7 separate regions of the Homo sapiens genome follow, and all the other regions are linked to region 7. Evidence: promoter capture Hi-C in 16 types of primary human blood cells and fetal thymus (Javierre and others, 2016). All regions are on one chromosome and are shown on one strand. The core of a region is centred on a gene start or on the middle of the fragment in contact, and the rest is flanking DNA. Distances in the headings are between cores, read along the strand shown. Region 1 overlaps PCSK2 (proprotein convertase subtilisin/kexin type 2). Region 2 overlaps RRBP1 (ribosome binding protein 1). Region 3 overlaps BFSP1 (beaded filament structural protein 1). Region 4 overlaps BFSP1 (beaded filament structural protein 1). Region 5 overlaps SCP2D1-AS1 (SCP2D1 antisense RNA 1). Region 6 overlaps DSTN (destrin, actin depolymerizing factor). Region 7 holds the start of ZNF133 (zinc finger protein 133).

Region 1 (2,757 bases), core at 257-2,756, 810 kb before region 7:
CTGGACCACTGCACATTTCACAATACATTTATAAGCTTTTCCCAGCTTAGGCAGATGTGTTAACGATAATTCCACTATGCTTGCGGTCCACTGGTTGATGTTGTTGTAATTATAATCTTCACCACCTAAAACCCCGTCTGCACATTCTTTGACAATATTGTGGGCTTCCTCAGCATTGAGGCCAACCTCGTCGCAGTGGCGATGGTACTCCTCCATGGTAGCGCCTGTTCTCCCTGGGGGCGGAGCTACGCCTGTGCCTGGTATTTCATACATGGTCTTATTTAACCACACAAGAATCATACGGCCGGGCGCGGTGGCTCACGCCTGTAATCTCAGCACTTTGGGAGGCCGAGGCAGGCGGATCACAAGGTCAGGAGATCGAGACCATCATGGCTAACACGGTGAAACTCCGTCTTTACTAAAAATATAAATAATTACCCGGGCACAGTGGAGGGCGCCTGTAGTCCCAGCTACTCGAGAGGCTGAGGCAGGAATGGCGTGAACCCGGGAGGCGGAGCTTGCAGTGAGCCGAGATGGCGCCACTGCACTCCAGCCTGGGCGACAGAGCAAGACTCCGTCTCAAAAAAAAAAAAAAAAAAAAAAAAAGAACTATCCACAATGACAGTGAAACTTCGAGTGCTTAAATAACCTGCCCAAGCTCTCATGAGCAGTAAACATAGAAGCAGAATTCTAATCCAAATGGGTTTATTCTCAAAGTCTGGAGTCTTGATGTTACACCACGCAATCCTCAAATGCGGTTTCCTTTTTTCCTTCTTTCTACTGCAAGAACCTTTGAGCTTCTCCCACTCCAAGAAGGCCATCTCCAGAAAGGAGATTGCCTGTAAGGACAGCCTAGAGAGTACTTGGGCTTAACCTCGCTCCAACTCTCGCCAAAGACTCCCCCAAAGTCTCCTGATCATTCATTGGACTGCCTTTCACTGGAATTAATTTACCCATTTTCAGCTTTTCTTTTTTTTTTTTTTTTTTTTTTTGAGGCAGAGTCTCGCTCTGTCACCCAGGCTGGAGTGCAGTGGCGCGATCTCGGCTCACTGCAAGCTCCGCCTCCCGGGTTCAAGCCATTTTCCCGCCTCAGCCTCCCAAGTAGCTGGGACTACAGGCGCCCACCACCAAGCCCGGCTAATTTTTCGTATTTTTAGTAGAGACAGGGTTTCGCCATGTTAGCCATGATGGTCTCGATCTCCTGACCTCATGATCCGCCCGCCTCGGCCTCCCAAAGTGCTGGGATTACAGGCGTGAGCCACTGCGCCCGGCCCAGCTTTTCTTAATGGTAGTAATGGCAGTCATATTAGCAACAGCTTCTATTTATCAAAGCACTTAGCACTTTGAAAGAAAGACATTATGAGTTCCTGCCTCAGTCTGGGTTGTCCCAGAAGTCCAACCTGAGACAAGACTTGGGTGCTGACAGTTTTTTGAGAAATGATCCCAGGTAACACAAGTGAGGAATTGGAGATGTAAAATAAGGAAGGGGAGAAAAGCCAATGAAGAGTGCATTAATGAGCGAGTTGCCACCGTGGGCAGCTGAGCTCAGTCCCACTAGGGACACTGAGTTGTCACGCTGAGGAATAGAGAAACCGGGGTAAAAACCTGTCAGTCACTGGGAGAGAGCTACCCCTCAAAGGTTAAATCCCTGCCACCTTTGGGCCGCCCTGCACGCAGGCTGTGCAGGCTTCCACGGAGGTGGGAGGAAGCCCAGGGGGAACACGGGGAGATTCTCGTGCCTGGGGTGGGAAGCAGTGGACGTGCAAGGGAGCTTCAGCTGCAGGTGAACTCAGAAGGGACTTAGGAGACTCAGGAGGGACATCACAGCATCTACTACATTCTCCTTCCACACAGAAGGTTCCAAGCGTAAGTAACTTGCTCACAGCCGGGCGTGGTGGCTCACACCTGTAATCCCAGCACTTTGGGAGGCCAAGGCAGCTGGATCACTTGAGGCCAGGAGTTCAAGACCAGCCTGGCCAACATGGTGAAACTCCGTCTCTACTAAAAATACAAAAAATTAGCCAGGCGTGGTGGCACATGCCTGTAACCCTGGCTACTGGGGAGGCTGAGGCATGAGAATCACTTGAACCCAGGAGCTGAAGGTTGCAGTGAGCTGAGATCACACCACTGCACTCCAGCCCGGGCAACAGAGTGGGACCCTGTCTCAAAAGACAAAAAAAAAAAAAAAAAAAAAAAAAAGAGATAAGTAACTTACTCAGGCTCACACAGCCAGTGTGGGAACTAAACCCAGGTCTGATTGATCAACCCCAAAGCCCTTGCCCTTTCCGCCACCTGAAGCTGCCCTCAAAATCCCTTGTAAGGTGCACCCACCACTGCTTATCCTATCTCCTCTTCACTCTGCCCTCAGGAAAATACCATCCACTGGCAAGTTGGTGCTGACACTCACAACCGACGCCTGTGAGGGGAAGGAAAATTTTGTCCGCTACCTGGAGCATGTCCAGGCTGTCATCACGGTCAACGCAACCAGAAGAGGAGACCTGAACATCAACATGACTTCCCCTATGGGCACCAAGTCCATTTTGCTGAGCCGGCGTCCAAGGGATGACGACTCCAAGGTGGGCTTTGACAAGTGGCCTTTCATGACCACTCACACGTGGGGGGAAGACGCCCGAGGCACCTGGACCCTGGAGCTGGGATTTGTCGGCAGCGCCCCGCAGAAGGGGGTGCTGAAGGAGTGGACCCTGATGCTGCATGGCACTCAGAGTGCCCCGTACATCGACCAGGTGGTGCGGGATT
Region 2 (2,700 bases), core at 158-2,657, 650 kb before region 7:
TTGAGCCCCAGCCCTGCAGACACCATCATCTGTCCCAGTCAAGGCTAGAAACGGGTGCCCAGTGTGGCACGGCCAGCCTGGGCCCATCCCCGCTATGCAGACAGGCTTGCTGGGCAGTGAACAGGGCACTGAGGCGGCCACTGCCCCGACTCACCTGCAGCTGCAGGACCTGCTTCTCGAAGGCAGCTGCCTTGGCTTCCAGAGCTTTCCGCTGCTGCTCATCTTGCCGCACAGCCTCTGACTTCTCCACCAGCTCTTTGCTGACCTTGCTGAGCTCCTGCCGAAGCTTGGCCAGCTCTGCGTTCTGCCTGCAAGACAGTCACCAGCCCGACTAATGGAAAGAAAAGGGTGATGGGATCGGTGGTCCAAGCCCTCCCTCCAGGACTCCAGCTCTCTTGTAAGTAAGCAGTTGCCCAAGTCTTGAAGCCATTACCAAAGCCACTTTTCCATTATCAGCTGTGTGGGGTTGGGCATGTGTTTTGTTGAAGACATTGTTTTACCTATATAGTGCATGAACCAGAGACAGCATAGAGCAAATGTGCACTAAAGCATCCCAGGGGAGCCCCTCCCAGAAACAGCCAGAAATTCACAGAAAACGGCAACACAGTTCTGGGTGCAAACCAGCCTTGAGATGAAGATCCACCCGCCTTGACGCCCTGTAGGCCTGTGGGCAGCAGCCCACGGAGTCCACGCGCCCCCTCACTGGCCAGCTGGACCAGGGCCAGGCTGGGGAGGCTGCCCAAAGCCAGAGCCTGAGGTGCTTACAAAACAGACCCTTCAGGACTGCACTTCAAAAGCTGGGTCTCAGGAGCTGGGAGGAATGTTCCGGAGTTACAGAAGGAGACTTAAAGGAAAAGGGGGCAGCTGGAGGCCTGCCTTTCCAGCGTAAGGCGTGTGATCAGGATGCCACTCCCTCACTAGCAGACGCTGCCTCAAGGCCAAAGACTGACTGTCCAACCAAGGGACACCACCAGACGAGACTGTCCCAAACCCTGGGACGCAGCACCAGGCCAGGCGGAGCTGGGAAACCGGGCTGAGGCTAGATTTGCTCTGCTGCCTGCGGGGTGGTGGGTCCCACCTCTCTGACTTGGGGGCTGCCTCGTCTGTACCGGGGAGGCCACACCAAAGCCCACTGTAGGTCCATCAGCTCCATGCTTCACAAGGCCAAGGTTCAAGTGACCTAGGAGGGAGGCGGAAGGTCGTGTGGTGCCCTCAAGATGGACTGGGAGCTCTGAAGTGGGCCTGGGAAAACACATCCCGCTGCTGAGAGCCACCCACCAGCCAGAGCTTCTGGACTGGCAGGGCCACTGCCTCAGCGTGACAAGTCTCCTGGCTTTAGAGCCTTACCCATTAAGGAGGCCACAGCAGATCCTATGTGGGGAGACGCCAGAGAATTTCTCAGTCCCCACATATGCCTTCTGCTGTGGCTTTTGGGGAAACAGCAGCCACAAACCTCCAACCAGCCGATGGCTCAGGAAGGGGACCCAGAGGGGACAGGCAGAGGGGAAGGCAGCTGCTGGATCTCACTCCACGTCAGAGGGAGCCATAGTCAAAACAGATACTTGGCCCAGCTCCCCTCCCTGTCCAGCTCCCACACTGGACTTCCCCTGACCCGACTCCCAGACAAGGACTAAGGGTGCCAGCGTGCTCTGCTGTGGTCAGCCCCTGCCTTGGTGAGAGCAGAGGCTTTCGGGATAACACAGAGCTCTGCCAAGTCCCTGCAGGACACTTCGGACCAGAGAAAGCAAAGAAATGTACAACTAAAGACACTGCAGTGGGTTTCTCGAGGGCTGCCACTGAGGGTGTAATGCTTAAATCAGGGAAGCAGAAGTGCGGCTGTACTCAACTCCGGAGGGGAAGTGCACCCTCCGGCCCACTTGCTGTGGGCTGCGGTGCTTCAGCAACTCAGAGACAACACTGAGATGAGAACCCCGCTAGGCAGGTGGGTGCTGGAAACCCTCCCTAGTACCAGTGCATCTGAAGCAAGGGTGTTGCAGAGCAGGAGGCTGTGCTCCAGGGCACAGTCGAGGCCCACCACCAGCCACCACAGGGACGCTGGGCCACCTGTTAGAAGACTCAGGGGCCCAGAACCCAGACGGGAGATGGAAGGTCAGGACGGCTCCGCACACATGTAGGGCCCATGCCTGGCTCTTGTGCCAGCTGCCCTGGCCGCAGCCTCGTGAAGCCTTCCTCGCTCCAGGGCCCTTGGGGAGGTGCTGAGGCAGGAAAGCTCAGCTTACTTGCTCTCCACCTGGCTCGTGGCCTGGTTCAAGGCATCCCGCAGGATGGAGTTCTCCTGCTGCAGGCGGGCCAGCTGCGTGTTGGGGCCATTCTCCAGCTGCTCCTGAAGAGTCCGGATCTGGAAAGTCACGGGCAAGGGCATCAGAGGCAGCTCGGCCTCACACACAGAACTGACTTCTGAGCAGTGGTTAGTGAAGACACAGCCCACAAAAGAAAACCCCCAAAAGCCTCCACCTTTTCCACGTGGAAGTTAAGAGGATCCCATAAAACAAGAGGCCTGAAAATTGCGAAGCTTAAGCGGCCAAGCATGACTCCCACACCCAGCGACACCTCTCTCCCTCCTCACTGCTCATGGCCTGCCCAAGGCTGAACACTCAGCCCAGGGTCTCTGACACACCCCATGAACATCTGCCTCCAAGGTCACATGGTTGACTGTTCTAAGACAAAGCACATGCACCG
Region 3 (2,790 bases), core at 19-2,518, 770 kb before region 7:
ACTAGAATTTGGAGCATTATTGAAAATCAGCCCTTTTTTAACTCAAATGGTGGGGATTAAAAAGGAAAAAAAACAGCCTTGCTGACCTATTCACAGGGATCCCAGAAACTCCATTTAAAACCCAACTGCTAAAGAATGGGTATTTAAGTTCATTAAGAGTTCTAGTTAGCTGGAATTTAATTAAAAAACACTTTTCCTTCAACTCTGGATGTCAAAAACCTTTCCAAAAATGTTATGGCTGTTCTTCCAGGTGCTAATGTTGGCCTGGAGGGCACTGGACAAATTCTACATCTCTCCACCCTCTCTCTTGCCTCTGCCTCAGTCTCCTCAACTTTGCTGTCTCTCCCTTTGCATTCATCCTGACTCTTCCTCCACTCCTCTTGCCTCTCCACCCCCAGACTCCTCCTCTTCCTTCCCAGTTTCCTCTCCTTCTCTTCTCCGGAAGTTCATTTCCGGGCTCAGAGGAATTCTTGGCATACAAAGGCATAGCCCTGAAGGTAGGGCTTCATGCCTGCACCATTTTATCCCCTAAACTCCCTGGCCTCTTGCTGCTTTCCACAGGCACGTTTAAGAGACACATGAATTACATGAAAAAGTATATATGTCAGCCTTTAAATATTTTTAAAATTGTTTTTAAGTGAAAGCATTTGACTAGAAACCACATCATTTTAAAATTCTGGGAATTTTAAAGAGAAAAGGAGAGGGAGATTTTAAAGTCTGCTGCTTACAGTTTCCTCAAGATAAGCAAATCAGGCATCATAGCAGACCAGTAACTTCATACGTATATATTTGGTGACCATGAGATCTAGAAGTTAGCAAACCCAAATATTTTAAAGTCACCTGGAATTCCTACTACATCAAAAGGCTGAGAAGTTGAATAACTTTGGCCATAGGTTGTAGGTAACGTGTTGAGGAGTTTACTTCACTTCTAAGTGCACAGCAAAGAGTGGCCTACTATAATTTATCTGGCTGATAAAACTACAGGAGCTCTTTCCGTAGGCTTGATTACACGGGCAGCATGAAGAAATGCATGGTGGTTTTGTGAAGGCAGGGGCCATCAGTCCTTTCACATACACTGCAATATCCTCCAAGTAGGATGCAAAGACTGGATCAGTGATGTCCCACGGCCACACCCAGGGATGAATCCCTTCCACAAGTCAGACCAAAGGAAATGGCCACTGAGACTGAGCTAAAACCTCGTTGATCTGATGTAAGAAAATACCCAAAACCTGCAGGCCAAAATCACTCACACGACCAGCTGATGCGATGTGAATTTTAGCCTCTTTCATGTCATCTGATGATCTCAGCAGAGAACAAAAAGGTCCAGTGTTCACCTGGCCCTGCCCTTGAGGGACTATTTGGGTTCTCCAGAAGTGGACCCCAAGGCAAAGACTGGGTACCTGTGGCTTATCTGGGAGGTGATCCCAGGAAGCACAGGTAAGGGAGGCTAGTGAGCCAGAGAAGGAAACAAAACCAATGAAGGAATGTGACGAGCAGGTTGCCATTGTAGACAGCTCAGTACGGCTGGGGTCCCTCTGAGGGACCATGTGGAATGTGGCTCTGAACCATCACTATGAGGGGTGGGGAACTTATCCACCTATCCCAGTCCACAGCAACTGAGGGTTGTTCCTGGGGTGTTAACACCCAGCGCTTCTGGACTATACTGATGTGGGCCATGCATGTTCCCAGAGCCCGAGATGCAGGCAGTGATCAGGGTGTTCAGCGTGTCTGAGTGACCACTGGCATGGCCCAAGGTGTGTGGACAGGACACCAACATCAAGGTCCATGGGGCCACCTATAGCCGAGAACTCTCTGGCTTCGTGTCTGGCCTCTGAGTAATACCGGTTCCCTGACTATTCTTTGGAGGTAGAGAATGAACCACAAATACAAAAGACCCCAACTCCTGTCTACACTTACCACGGCTGAGCTGCGAGGCTCTGAAGTCATTTAACCTCATCAAGGGTGAGTTTCCTCACTGGCCCAGAGAAGGATTTGGAATAGGTCATTTCTGAGAATAAAACCTGCCCCCCCAATAACCACGGGCTGTTCTGAGGCTCCCACAGGCTTGCACAAGGCCCTCCCCAGCGTCCTGCATCTGCCTGCTGTGTTTATGATTTCTACTATTATCCAAGGACCACCTGCATCTTATTCACTCTGTATTTGTCTTTAAAGGTACTCATTCTTACGTAGGTTTATTTGGAAAGGAATATTTTATGTCATCCGCTGTAAATAACAGGTAATCATAAAAAATTCACAACTATTAAATATCACTCCTCCATGCACTTTCTAAAGTCACCTCCCATTTCAACAGGGTTCTGCACCCACACTGTGGAGAAAACCAAGCTGGTGTCTGTCACATCAAGTGCTCTGTAGTAATAACAGTGATCAGGGATTCAGCACCACCAGGTGATGGGCAAGTCATATACATTATTACATCATTTAGTTCTCACTAGGCACTTTCACTCCTATGGTGGGTGGGGAGTATTGTGATTCCATTTCACAGATGAAAAAACCGAGGCTCAGAGGGACAAGGCAATTGGCCCACAGTCTCACAGATGCTCAGCTGTAGCAGGAGGTTCCTAGTCACAGGCTACACTCCTCGCTGGGGCTCTGCAGCTCACCTGCGGGCAGTACTGTCTTACTTGGACCCAGGGGCCAGTCATGCTAATTGCCTGTGCTGGTCTCACCCACATTCTTGGTAGCATCTTTCCCCAGAACCTTCATAATATTCTTACAGGGCTGATACTTCAAATGTCCACACTCTATGTCACAATATACATGAAGGTGTAT
Region 4 (2,757 bases), core at 200-2,699, 790 kb before region 7:
ACGTATATATACGTATATATATACACACACGTATGTATATATGTGTGTATATATGTATATGTGTGTGTATATGTATATATACGTATATATATACGTGTATATATATACGTATATATACATATACACACACATATATACATATATACATATATCTACTCATATATACGTATATACATATATACATATACATGTACACACACACATCATATATAAATAGAGAAAAAATGATAAAGCAATTGAGATAAAATATAAACAACTGGTGAATCTGGAGTATTCAGGAGTTCCTTGTTCTATTCTTGCAACATTTCTATCAATTTAAAATTAGACCAAAATCAGAACTTATAGATAAATAAAAGAGGTATCCAGTCACCTTTCTGTGAAGCCCTGTCCCAAAACAAAAATGTTTACAAAGTCACCGAAATGCCAGCTCCAGACTTATTCTTGCAGATGTGTGCATAGTGTTCACTGTGACATAAATATAATGTGGAATCATGCCAGATACACCGACCAGCACTGGAGAAAGAAAAATAAAATCCTGCTTCTCCTGCCAAGCATTCGAGTGCTCACAGCCAAGAGAGAGCACCCAGCGCGAAGGGAAGAGCTGCTCCTGGTGGGGACCTCAGTTGTGGGGGGCTTCTCTTTTCATTCAGTCGAAACCCAGGAATTTAGCAAGACTGAAGTGAAGAATCACAAATTAATTCCCAACCCGTTCTCTGGAAATCACCGTAGCTATGAATACCAGCATAGCTGGAGAGAAAGAGAGAATTTCCCAGCTTTCTTAAAGTGAGTAGGGATCGACTCACAGCTCCATTATGGAGAAGACCAGACAGCCACATAGTCACAGCCACAGACTGACTCAGCAAGGTGCTAAGAATTGTGAGGATGGCAGCAGGAGCATCACCAACACCTCTGAGTGCCCTCAAGTGCCAGGCTCCGTGCCACGTAGCTCACCTGCAGCACCTCATTAAATACTCCTGGGCATCCCACCTGCTGGGACACTTATGTCCCCAGAGGCCTATGAGCAAAACACAGGCTTCTCAGTGAGGCCTTTTCTGACCACCCTACTTAAAACTGCAAGCATTCCCCCATCACCCCTATTGCCACCACCCTCCTCCCTGCGGGAACTTCCTCCTCAGCACTGGTCGTACCTTCATCCTCTGTCTCCCCTACTAGTTATCCAACACCCATGGGGTCAGGAATTGTTCTGTTTCCTTCCCTGACACATGCCCACTGCCTATAACTGTGCCTGGCACACAATAGGCACTCAATAAAGAGTTGTGGAAGGAATAAGTGGCCTGGATGGGGAGGGCACACGCTCACCTGTTGCCTTCAATCTCGATGATACGATGATACCGGTCCAGCTCATTCTTCAGGGTTTGCTGGGCGACCGCCAGCTGCCGGCAGTCGTAAGAAGACTTCTCCAGGACCCGCTCTGTCTCCTCAATCTCCTTGCGCAGTGTCTCAATCTGCTCGTTATAAAGCTGAATCTCATCGTCATAACACTCATGGGCACTTTTAATAGCTTGTTCCAGAGTTGTTGTCTGTGGGCAAGGACACGCTGTAAGAAAATCCATCCCCCTTCTTCTCTAAGAGACAGACCTCACCAGGAAAAGGAACCTGGACTCGGTGAATGTTTTATGTTGTTTGTGTGTTTCTCTGTCCATTCGAGATTAGCAATGAATCACTTTGGAATCCTTAAGCTAAAAAGCAATGTGAAAACTGAGCTCCTGTGTCCTTACACAATTTTTTTTTTTTTTTTTTTTGATAGAGGATCTCACTTTGTCACCAGGCTGGAATGCAGGAGTGCAATCTCGGCTCACTGCATCCTCGACCTCCCAGGCTAAAGGCTTCCACCTCAGCCTCCTGAGTAGCTGTGACTACAGGCAAGCACCAACATGCTGGGCTTTTTTTTTTTTTTTTTTTTTTTGGTAGTGATAGGGTCCCACTTCGTTGCCCAGGCTGGTTTCAAACTCCTGGCTTCAAGTGATCCTCCCACCTCAGCCTCCCAAAGTGCTGGAATTACAGGTGCGAGTCACCGCACCCAGCCCTTCTTGCACTAATATCAGCACCCTCTGCAATTAGTCCATAAGGAGGCCCACCCCAAAGGCAGTCTGAAGACAAACCTAGAAAATAAAACGAAACCTAGGCCAGGTGGCTCACACTTGTAATCCCAGAACTTTGGGAGGCCGAGGCTAGCAGATCACTTGAGGTCAGGAGTTTGAGACCAGCCTGGCCAACATAGTGAAACCCCATCTCTACTAAAAATACAAAAATTAGCTGGGAGTGGTGGCACACGCCATAATCCCAGATACTTGGGAGGCTGAGGCAGGAGAATCACTTGAACCTGGGAGGCAGAGGCTGCAGTGAGCCAAGACCACACCATTGCACTCCAGCCTGGGCAACAGAGCAAGACTCTGTCTAAAAGAAAAAGAAAAAAAACTTGCTATCGGTGGAATAATATGTATAATTCAAATAAAGTACATTCTTCAGACTTTAATGAACAAGCATAAATCTGATAGCAAAAAAATAAGTAAAAAGAAGCACATACTAAATAGATAAGATGCTACCTTTATTGAAATACTGAGTGGGAGAAAAGTTTCCTTGTTCTCATTCAGCTTTGATTTTCTCCCGAGTTTGGATCGGCAGAGTTACATTTATGTTTTGGTAGCTAAGGTGTATGTGTGTGCCCTTGTGTACACATAAAATAATGTCAGAGAAATACAGTACATTAATCAGAGCAAGTAAAAATTAAGGGAG
Region 5 (2,700 bases), core at 149-2,648, 520 kb after region 7:
GCACACACTGCAGATGGCTGTGTGTCTCTCAAGGCAACTGGGGGCTGTGGGCCACGTGGCATTCAGCTCCTTAGTACTAAAATGTGTTATATTCAGGTGTGTGCATTGGTCAACTCTCAGCAAATGTACACTTAAGATTTGTGCATTTCTTTGTGTGTAAATTTTACATGAAAAACTAAAGAAATATTGTACTGTAGTAAATGCTTTGCATACTCAAGTGTTTGGGGGCTACTGATACCTGTAATTTACTTTGAAACATAAAAATAAGATAAAAATAAGATGGAGAGCTTCAAACAAGTGTAATATAGTGCAATGATAGAATATTGGTGAATATTTGAGTGTTGACTGTAGAAATCTTTCAACTTTGCAAAATATGCCTAAAAATTTTAAGAATAAGATGTTGGAAAAATTGTATTCAATTAAGAAACCATGGAGAGAGTGCACACTCATTACAAACAAAGCAGAATATATAAAGTAAAAGGTGAAAGTCCTTTCCTTCTCCTCTCACTGCATCTGATACCCAGGTGCAGGCACCTTGTCTGAGGCCCTCACAGCAAGGGTAAACTCGGTGACATAGATTTGTTCCCATTCAGGGGATGGGGGTGGGTGACACTTCTTAATCCCATTCCCCTATTCTGTTTGACCCATCTGCCAGCCCGACACCTGTGAGTGAATACACCTGCCCAGGTGCTGGGTTGGCAAGTGGGAGATGGATTTGCAAACTTTCAGAAAGAAAGCCCCCAGCCACATTTTGTTCCCAATGAGGAGGCTGGCAAAAAAGGGAAATGACCTTTGTTATTGAAATGTAATGACACCAAAGCTCTCAAAAATGATGGGGTTTCTCCTTGTTGCCTTCCGAGGTGCAATGGAAGAAGCTGTGGGTACCTGTGGTGGGCACTTGTCGCTGTGCAACACCCTTTTCTTTCCTGTTACCCCAACTCCAATTCTGTCCAAGGGACGGGGAGCCCTGCTCAGGGGTGTGAATCCTGATGGACATGTGATTCAGTCCTTGCCAGTGAGACCAGTGGAGGCCTTGGGACCTTTTCTTTCTGGTAAGCAATAGGTCCAAGGAGAGGTCTTTTTTGTCCCTTTGGCTTGGGCTGCTGTCTTCTGAGGATGTGATGGAAGGAGCCATGGCAGCCAGGCAGCCGTGAAGTGACAAACTGGGGACAAAAGGCAACACATTGAGGATGGTAGAATGCAAGAGTGGACACAGCACAGAGGTCTTGGCTGACCTCTCCAAGCCATAGTAGAAAAACCCAATTTTCAGACCTTGGAGGGCCTGTTATAACCCCAGTTGCTGGCATGATGGTTCACTTTATGTGTCAACTTGACTGGGCCATGGGATCCCCAGACCAGAGGTAAAACATTATTTCAGAGAGTGTCCATGGAAGCATTTCTAGAAGGAGGGGACAGCACTTGAATTGGTGGACTGAGTAAGGCAGATGGCCATCCCCAATGTGGGAGGCATCATCCCATCTATTGAGGGTCTTAATGGGACAAAAAGTGAGGGGAAGGTGGAACTCAGCCTCTCTGCCAGGCCTGAGACGTGGATCTTCTCCTGCCTTTGGACATCTGGGGTCCTGGTCCAGGACTTACACCAACCCCCGCCGCCCCCCAGTCCAGGCCTTCGGACCTGGAATGAATTACACCCCCTGTCTGTGTCCCTTGTTTGCATGTGGGACTTCTTGACCTCCAAAACCATGTGACCCAGTTCCTATAATAACTCCTTTCATCTCTCTCTCTATATATCATATTGGTTCTTTTTCTTTGGAGAACCCTGATTAATACAGCCGGGTCCCCTCCCCAGAGTTTTTGATTCAGCAGATCTGGCATGGGGCCTGAGAATGTGCATTTCTAATGAATCCCTAGGTGGAGTTGATGCCACTGGCCTGGGGACCCCATTTTGGGACCACTGAATTGAACCATTATCAGTTTTTATGGTAGTGGTTGTTACTTGAAGCTAAAAGCATCCTATTTAATAAAATGGTTTTGCAATTTTTTATTTTTAAATTTTAATTTAATTGTATTTCTTAGGGAACAGATCTCCATGCCTCTCACATTCCTTTAAAGCATTTGAAGAATTCAGAAACAAAAAGCTACAAATCTGCTGGGACCAGATCCTTGGGTCTGAATGGCAACCAAAGGGGAAAGAATCTCAACAGGGCTGAGGAAGATTGTGTCCAGTTGCAGGGTGCGTGTTTTCAAGATGCCAATGGGGTGGCAGTCAAGGTAGGAGAAGCAGCCTGCCACGGTGCAGGTAACAAGGCAGTAGTATCTGTTGAGAATTTAAATAATAAAACTGACTAGACAGTGTCTCTACTTTTATTATTTCTATTGGAGGACAATTCTAAAGAATGTCGTTGGGGAAGTGCTCCCTTGAGTCCTGGCATGTTTTGGATTTCTTATGTATGAGCTGTGGAACTGCATTCCCCTCGGACACACTGTGGCAGGAGAATGACAGCCCTATTGGGGACCTGCCTGAATAATTTAGATGGGACGGCGCTGTCTTTGAGGAAAATGAGATACGGGCAGTGGTGGGGCTCAGTTCTTTGTTGACTGCTTATAGTGAACTTGCTGGGGAATTCCTGCCCTCCTCATTTTAAAATCTCTGTGCTGATGTTGTCCATACCTGGTGACCTCATGGCAAGAACATGGTTTTGGAAGACACTGGGCTTTGTTTAACTGCTCAGCTTTGAT
Region 6 (2,709 bases), core at 199-2,698, 690 kb before region 7:
CCTTGTGGGTTTTTTATTATTTTTGCAGGCAAAATTTAGTATATAGTGTTACTAGTCATGAAGAGCCATACTACTAGTTACTAGTCATGAAGAGCCATACTACTCTAATATCAAAGCCACCACAGTGGGGAAATTAAGGAAAGTGAGCATTTGGCATTATTAATTAGCCTCCTGATCACCATACAGACTCCTTCCTTTCCACCTCCCCTCTCCCAGTCCAGTGATTGTCAACTACAATTGATTGCACCTATGCAGTTCCCATCACTTCCTCCTTAGTAATGCTGCCACTACCCTAGTGAAGGCCTTTTGCACCTCTTGCCTTGGTTGCTGAATTAGCCTTTTAGCTGGAGTGCCTACTATAATTTTCTTCCTCTTCTTGTTCTCTTACGCATGGCTTCATGTATTTTCCCAAAGCACAACTCTGTTCCTCTTACTCTTTTTAAAAATATCCAGTCTCCAAACCCCTGAACCTTCTGTTGGAGGCCTTTTCCATCTCAACCTGGTGCGAGTCTCCAGTTTCCTTCTCCCTTATCCTCATCTCCTGTTGTATTTGCTGGGTTCTCTTTGTCAGGAGCAGTCTTTTCATCCTTTCAGTCCCCTTGTTTTAGAGTGCTTTTAAGTCAGCATGAAACTACCTGATGAACTGTCTTTCTGTTTAAGCTACTTTCTTTAAATTCCCTTCCACTGGAGTTTATCAAGGAATAATGTATATTCTACCAAGTATTGAAGCTTTGTATGTGCTGTCCTTATCTTCTCCATAAGTCAAACTAATGATTCATCTGACTGATCTTTGATTTTTTTTTCAGGGTAACACAATAATGAATAAGACAGACACCGTTTATCTTAAGGAACTTACAGTCTTTAAGAACTTGTGGCCTTAAGGAGATGATATTAAGTAATTTTAAAGATAGAGCATTGAAGTGGTAGGAGGTGGTGTGTGGTGGAGATACATGATCTTATGGGAGCATGTGATACTGGTTTTGATGCAGAAGACTTTTCTGCGTAGTGAGAATTGATCTGACATCTAAAGAGTATTAGCCAAAGAACTGTAGGGAAGTGCTATCTAGGCAGGGTGTATAGTATGAGCAAAGGCCCTGAAGTGGGCCAGAGTATGGCAAGTACAAATGACTGAAAGAAAGCCAGGGTAGTGAAATTGCAGTGTGTGGTCTATAAGATAAGGCTAAAGAGGTAGGTATAGCCAAATGGAGCCCATTATTGGGCTGGGGGTGGTGGCTCATACCTGTAGTCTCAGCACTTTGGGAGGCCAAGGCAGGACAATAGCTTGAGGCCAGAAGTTTGAGACCAGCTTGGACAACATAGTGGGACCTTGTCTCTACAAAAAAAATTTTAAAAATTAGCTGGGCATGGTGGCACGTGCTTATAGTCCCAGTACTCAGGAAGCTGAGGTGGGAGGATCACTTGAGCCCAGGAGTGCGAGGCTGCAGTTTGCTATGATCATGCCACTGCAGTCCAGCCTGGGTGACGAAGTGACACCGTATCTCAAAAATAAATAAATAAATAAATAAATAAATAAATAAATAGCTATTTTTTACCTTCAGATCAATGGAAAGCCACTGGACTGTTCTAAGTATGGTGATCAGATTCATGTTTATGTAGAGGATGAATTGGAGGGTAAAGGTGATGGGCAGTTGGTATGGGCAGTCTTGTTGTATTAGAACTGCAATAACAAATTAAATTCAAAATCTCAGTGACTTAACACAGTAAAGATTTGTCTCTGTCACGCAGAGTCCAGAAGGGTTGGGCAGCCTTCTCCTATCATGAAGTATGCTTACCAAGGTCATCTTGGTGGGAGAAAACAGAGCTTTAAGATCACTTTTATTTAACTTTTATTTAATTTTTGATGTTTTAAAAATCATTTTATTGTGGTAGGATTCACATCTAAAAAGCTGTATTTAGTGTATTTAAAGATCACTTTTAAAGGGCCAGGACTGGAAGTAGTTTACATAACTGGGCCCAGCTTGGCTGTTCAGAACTCAAATGGCTGTTCAGAACTCAGTCATACAGCCAACTCAGCTTGCCAGGAAGGCTGGGGAATGCAGTCTTTCCTGTTCAGCCAAGAAGAGAAAACAGTATGATGTATACATATCCTAATCTCCCTCCTCTGCAGCCACTTGAGGAGTTACTGCAGTCCAAGTAAGAGGCAATGGAAGCTTGGACTGAGGGTGAAATGAGATGAATGTATCAGAGAAAGATGAAAATCCAAAGAGTAAGATAATGGAGGAGTTGCTAAGAACATCTCTTAGGCTTGGAGCCTTATGTGACTAGGAGGGTGGTGATAGCTACTGAGAAAGGAAGACTGGTTAGAAATGGACCAGCTTGTTTTTTATTTTAGACATGTTGTGCATCACATGCCTTTGAGACACACAACTGGAGATGTGAGATAGGAAGTTGAATGTAAAGACTAGAAGCTCAGAAGAGCAGAAGTCTGAACTAAGTTTTGGCTTAGATGATTGAAAGCTTGAGCTTGGGTAAACTCTCTGAGGAAGAATGCAGAGTTCGTCCTTTCCTTCCACACTGCCATCAGCCTCTGCTTTCCACTGCATTGTCCTACCACCCTCACCCCTTGACCTCAGCTGACCTTTTGGAGGTCCCCAGAGCCCTTTTTCTTGTCCTTAGGTAGTTCCTTTTGGAACTCCCCGTCATAGCTGTTCTGAATTGTTAGTAGTAGTAGATTGGAGGAGTGCCCTC
Region 7 (2,700 bases), core at 37-2,536:
ATCCTGTAAGTCTTCATTTCCAGGCTTAAGAGATGTCAGCCATCTGTGTCTTTATTGTACAGCCAGCACAAGTGAACACTTGAACACAGGCATCCCTGCATTGTTGTTCTGAACCTTTATGTGTATTAACAACTAATTTCTTGGTGATGACTGACTCATGAGGCAGAGAATGATGTTGAGGGATGAATCCAATTGACACTGGACATGTCTCCGGAGCCAGGACTGAACTGAATTCACAATAAATAATGTAGCCTCGGGGTACCAGAAGGGAATGGATTCACCCTCTGAGAGCTACAAAAGAATTTTAGGAAATTCTCATCTCCCTGGCCCTTCAGACAGTGGTCATTTTCTTGGTCTTCCAAGAGAATGACAAAGTTTCAGAAAGCCTATCTGAGGAAGGTGAAGGGCAGTGAGAGGGTGCACGGGTGGAAAAGCCCTCTCAAGAGTGACGTGGGCCTTCCCCTCGAGCTCCCCAGATGGGGCGTCCCAGATGGCACCAGCGCAATCTTGTTCTCAACCAGGATCCCGGACAAAGACCTAGAGATCCAAGCCGACGGCAGGCCAAGCTCTGGCCCGAGACTGAGGCTTCTGCTTCTCAGGAGATGAGAGTTTAACAATAACTTCGTGGATTTCAAAAAGAAGAAAAAGGTCTCAGGGCACCGGAAAAGGTGTATTCGGGTTGAGGGCGTGGGCTCAGAATCGGGTCTACCTCGTACGGGATGTGAGACTTCAGGCAGACTGCTCGGCCTTTTCAAGGCTTTAAATGGAGCTAAAGGGTATACGACATGACGTTCGCCCGGTGTTTAGGAATATGGGGCGTGACTTTCCAAGCAGGCGGCTGGAGCCAGGGAGACCACAGGCCGCTGCAACACAAACCAGCACCTGAACAAGCTTGGTCAGCCAGCGGTACACCTCCGCCAACCCCAGAAGCCGAACAGATGCGCCCCGAAACGTCATTTCCGCGCGCCAAGGGGCGGGGCCGGTACCGGGTGCGGAAGTCGCTCCAGGGGTCACTGGGAAGTGTAGTTTTCGAGACAGAGGCGCTCAGAAGGAGGGTCACAGTAGGGCCAGGCACTCTTCTCGGGAGCTCCTACGTGTTTTATGCACGTGGTTAAGAAAAAAGAGGGAGAATTCAGGTGCCACAGTGGCCATTCTCCGGTGACCGGAGCGTGTTACTCAGAAACGGATCCGTCAGAGGCCAATGGGAGCTGCCGGCCTTCAGGGCGCGCCTGGTGGCGCCGAGCATCCTGGGAGGTGTGGTCCGGGCGCTGTGCCGAGGATTCGGGGTAGTGTAGTCCTGGCGCCCCGCTGGAGGAGCTCCCCAGCTGGTGGCTGGAGCGACCCCTTGTTCTTTGGTGGCGCTGGTGAGTGAGGCTCCCGCGGGACCCTTGCCGCAGCCGTACCCTTTTCTGCGCGAAAAGGAAGGTCCCGAAAGGCTGGACTATGGGCTGAATTTGGGGACCGTGCGGGTGGCGCGGGGGTGGTGATTGTGGTGGGAACGCGCTGGCGTGGCGCAGGCCGTCCTCTCCCAGATGTCTTATTTTGGGGGTGTGGGCGTGCATCTCCAGGGGAGTTGGGTGAAGCCCATCCGTGAAACTGGATGGTGATGAGTGGGGGATCGGGCTCTCTCTCCTAGGGTTCTTGTGGGTGGGGACAGGTTCGGCTTTGGCTGAAGTCGGGTATTGGGAAAGGGAGTCGCTGATGCCATAAGTCCCCGGTTTTGGGGGAGTTGAATAAATAAGCTTTTTGGGGGAATGGTATTTCCCAGGTGGTGGAATGGGAACCATCCCTGGGGCCATGTGTCCCCGAGGCATTGGTCGGTTGAGGGCTAGTCTCTTGGGGCCACACTATTCTTCGGCTTTGCTGGAGTGGAATGAGGAGCGGTCTGGCTTGACCAAACAAGCCAAGGTTAGACTGGATCTGGGGTGGCCATTTTGCCGCGATCTTAGGGTTTCACTTTGGTTGGTCACCCCCGGGTTCGGGCGTTGGAGGAGGAAGTCTGGCTGGGACGCACAGGACAGGTTTTTTCCAAAGGTCCCAGGGACCGTCATTGATCGCAAGAATTACGGATTCCCAGGCCCCTGGTGTGGCCAGGCTTTGGGATTTTACATTCCATTTAAGTTTTTATTGCGGAGAAATTTCAAACAGCCAGAAGTAGATAGAACTCTATAGACCAGATCTCCATCACCCAGATTCAACACTTAAAACCTTATGACCAATCTTGATTCATCTCAGAATGGACACAGAGAATCCTTGCAATCCAGAGTTCACCGTCACTGCCCTTACTGTGTAAGAGCACGGTCTCCACAGCCACATTTCCTCTAGGCTCTGTCACTTTATAGCTGTGTCACCTTGGGCAAGATGCTGACTTCACTGTACCTCAGTTTCCTCGATTTTATCCTAAAGAGGATAATAGCATCTATCGTATTGGGTTGTTGAAAGGATAGAATGAGGTGAAACTCCTACAGTGGCTGTAACAGTCTCTGGTGTATACTAAGTGTTCAGTGAATATTACCTTTCATTAATAACAGGCACAGAGAAGGTCGCTTCATGCTCAGCGTCAACAGCATATCAGGGCAGGTCGTGCTTTCAACCTGTACCCCAGCTGTGTTCCCAGGAAGCTGCCCGCAGTTCTTTTCTCCTTTTCTTCTGTGGCAGGTTCATTCCTGATGCTGTTAAGGAATAGGAGGTACTGCCCTG

What was found. Contacts are between HindIII fragments. The CHiCAGO score rates a contact against its expected background, and 5 or more counts as called.
Region 1: a contact is called between a fragment that was not itself captured here and the fragment with the promoter of ZNF133 in region 7, in 1 of 17 cell types (M0 macrophages). The highest score is 5.4, in M0 macrophages.
Region 2: a fragment that was not itself captured here is called in contact with the fragment with the promoter of ZNF133 in region 7 in 1 of 17 cell types (fetal thymus); the score reaches 5.2 in fetal thymus.
Region 3: a contact is called between a fragment that was not itself captured here and the fragment with the promoter of ZNF133 in region 7, in 6 of 17 cell types (naive CD8 T cells, fetal thymus, naive B cells and 3 more). The highest score is 7.9, in naive CD8 T cells.
Region 4: a fragment that was not itself captured here is called in contact with the fragment with the promoter of ZNF133 in region 7 in 13 of 17 cell types (M2 macrophages, fetal thymus, M0 macrophages and 10 more); the score reaches 12.2 in M2 macrophages.
Region 5: a fragment that was not itself captured here is called in contact with the fragment with the promoter of ZNF133 in region 7 in 2 of 17 cell types (activated CD4 T cells and naive CD4 T cells); the score reaches 5.2 in activated CD4 T cells.
Region 6: a fragment that was not itself captured here is called in contact with the fragment with the promoter of ZNF133 in region 7 in 2 of 17 cell types (activated CD4 T cells and fetal thymus); the score reaches 6.2 in activated CD4 T cells.

Annotation. Positions count from the first base shown.
Region 1 is chr20:17,479,216-17,481,972 of GRCh38, forward strand. It overlaps PCSK2 (proprotein convertase subtilisin/kexin type 2), which reads left to right. Exons shown (of 12, transcript NM_002594.5): 12 at 2,369-2,757. It also overlaps the pseudogene DYNLT3P1. Among named protein-coding and RNA genes, the nearest start is that of BFSP1, 51 kb to the right of the region's middle. The HindIII fragment of the contact is 2,946 bases long and covers 34-2,757 here.
Region 2 is chr20:17,633,306-17,636,005 of GRCh38, forward strand. RRBP1 (ribosome binding protein 1) reads right to left here. Exons shown (of 25, transcript NM_001365613.2): 7 at 2,241-2,359; 8 at 155-308. Among named protein-coding and RNA genes, the nearest start is that of RRBP1, 48 kb to the right of the region's middle. RefSeq lists an enhancer at 2,563-2,700. The HindIII fragment of the contact is 2,247 bases long and covers 285-2,531 here.
Region 3 is chr20:17,520,324-17,523,113 of GRCh38, forward strand. All of the region lies in intron 2 of BFSP1 (beaded filament structural protein 1), which reads right to left. Among named protein-coding and RNA genes, the nearest start is that of BFSP1, 9.7 kb to the right of the region's middle. The HindIII fragment of the contact is 3,250 bases long and covers 1-2,790 here.
Region 4 is chr20:17,497,500-17,500,256 of GRCh38, forward strand. It overlaps BFSP1 (beaded filament structural protein 1), which reads right to left. Exons shown (of 8, transcript NM_001195.5): 6 at 1,321-1,541. Among named protein-coding and RNA genes, the nearest start is that of BFSP1, 33 kb to the right of the region's middle. The HindIII fragment of the contact is 3,679 bases long and covers 1-2,757 here.
Region 5 is chr20:18,808,953-18,811,652 of GRCh38, forward strand. It overlaps SCP2D1-AS1 (SCP2D1 antisense RNA 1), which reads right to left. Exons shown (of 3, transcript NR_161343.1): 3 at 399-1,163. Among named protein-coding and RNA genes, the nearest start is that of SCP2D1, 3.5 kb to the right of the region's middle. The HindIII fragment of the contact is 6,321 bases long and covers 1-2,700 here.
Region 6 is chr20:17,592,579-17,595,287 of GRCh38, forward strand. All of the region lies in intron 1 of DSTN (destrin, actin depolymerizing factor), which reads left to right. Among named protein-coding and RNA genes, the nearest start is that of DSTN, 24 kb to the left of the region's middle. The HindIII fragment of the contact is 1,442 bases long and covers 728-2,169 here.
Region 7 is chr20:18,287,241-18,289,940 of GRCh38, forward strand. ZNF133 (zinc finger protein 133) reads left to right here and starts at 1,287. Exons shown (of 7, transcript NM_001352452.2): 1 at 1,287-1,364. RefSeq lists enhancers at 860-909, 989-1,894, 1,000-1,339, 1,900-2,019. The HindIII fragment of the contact is 851 bases long and covers 890-1,740 here.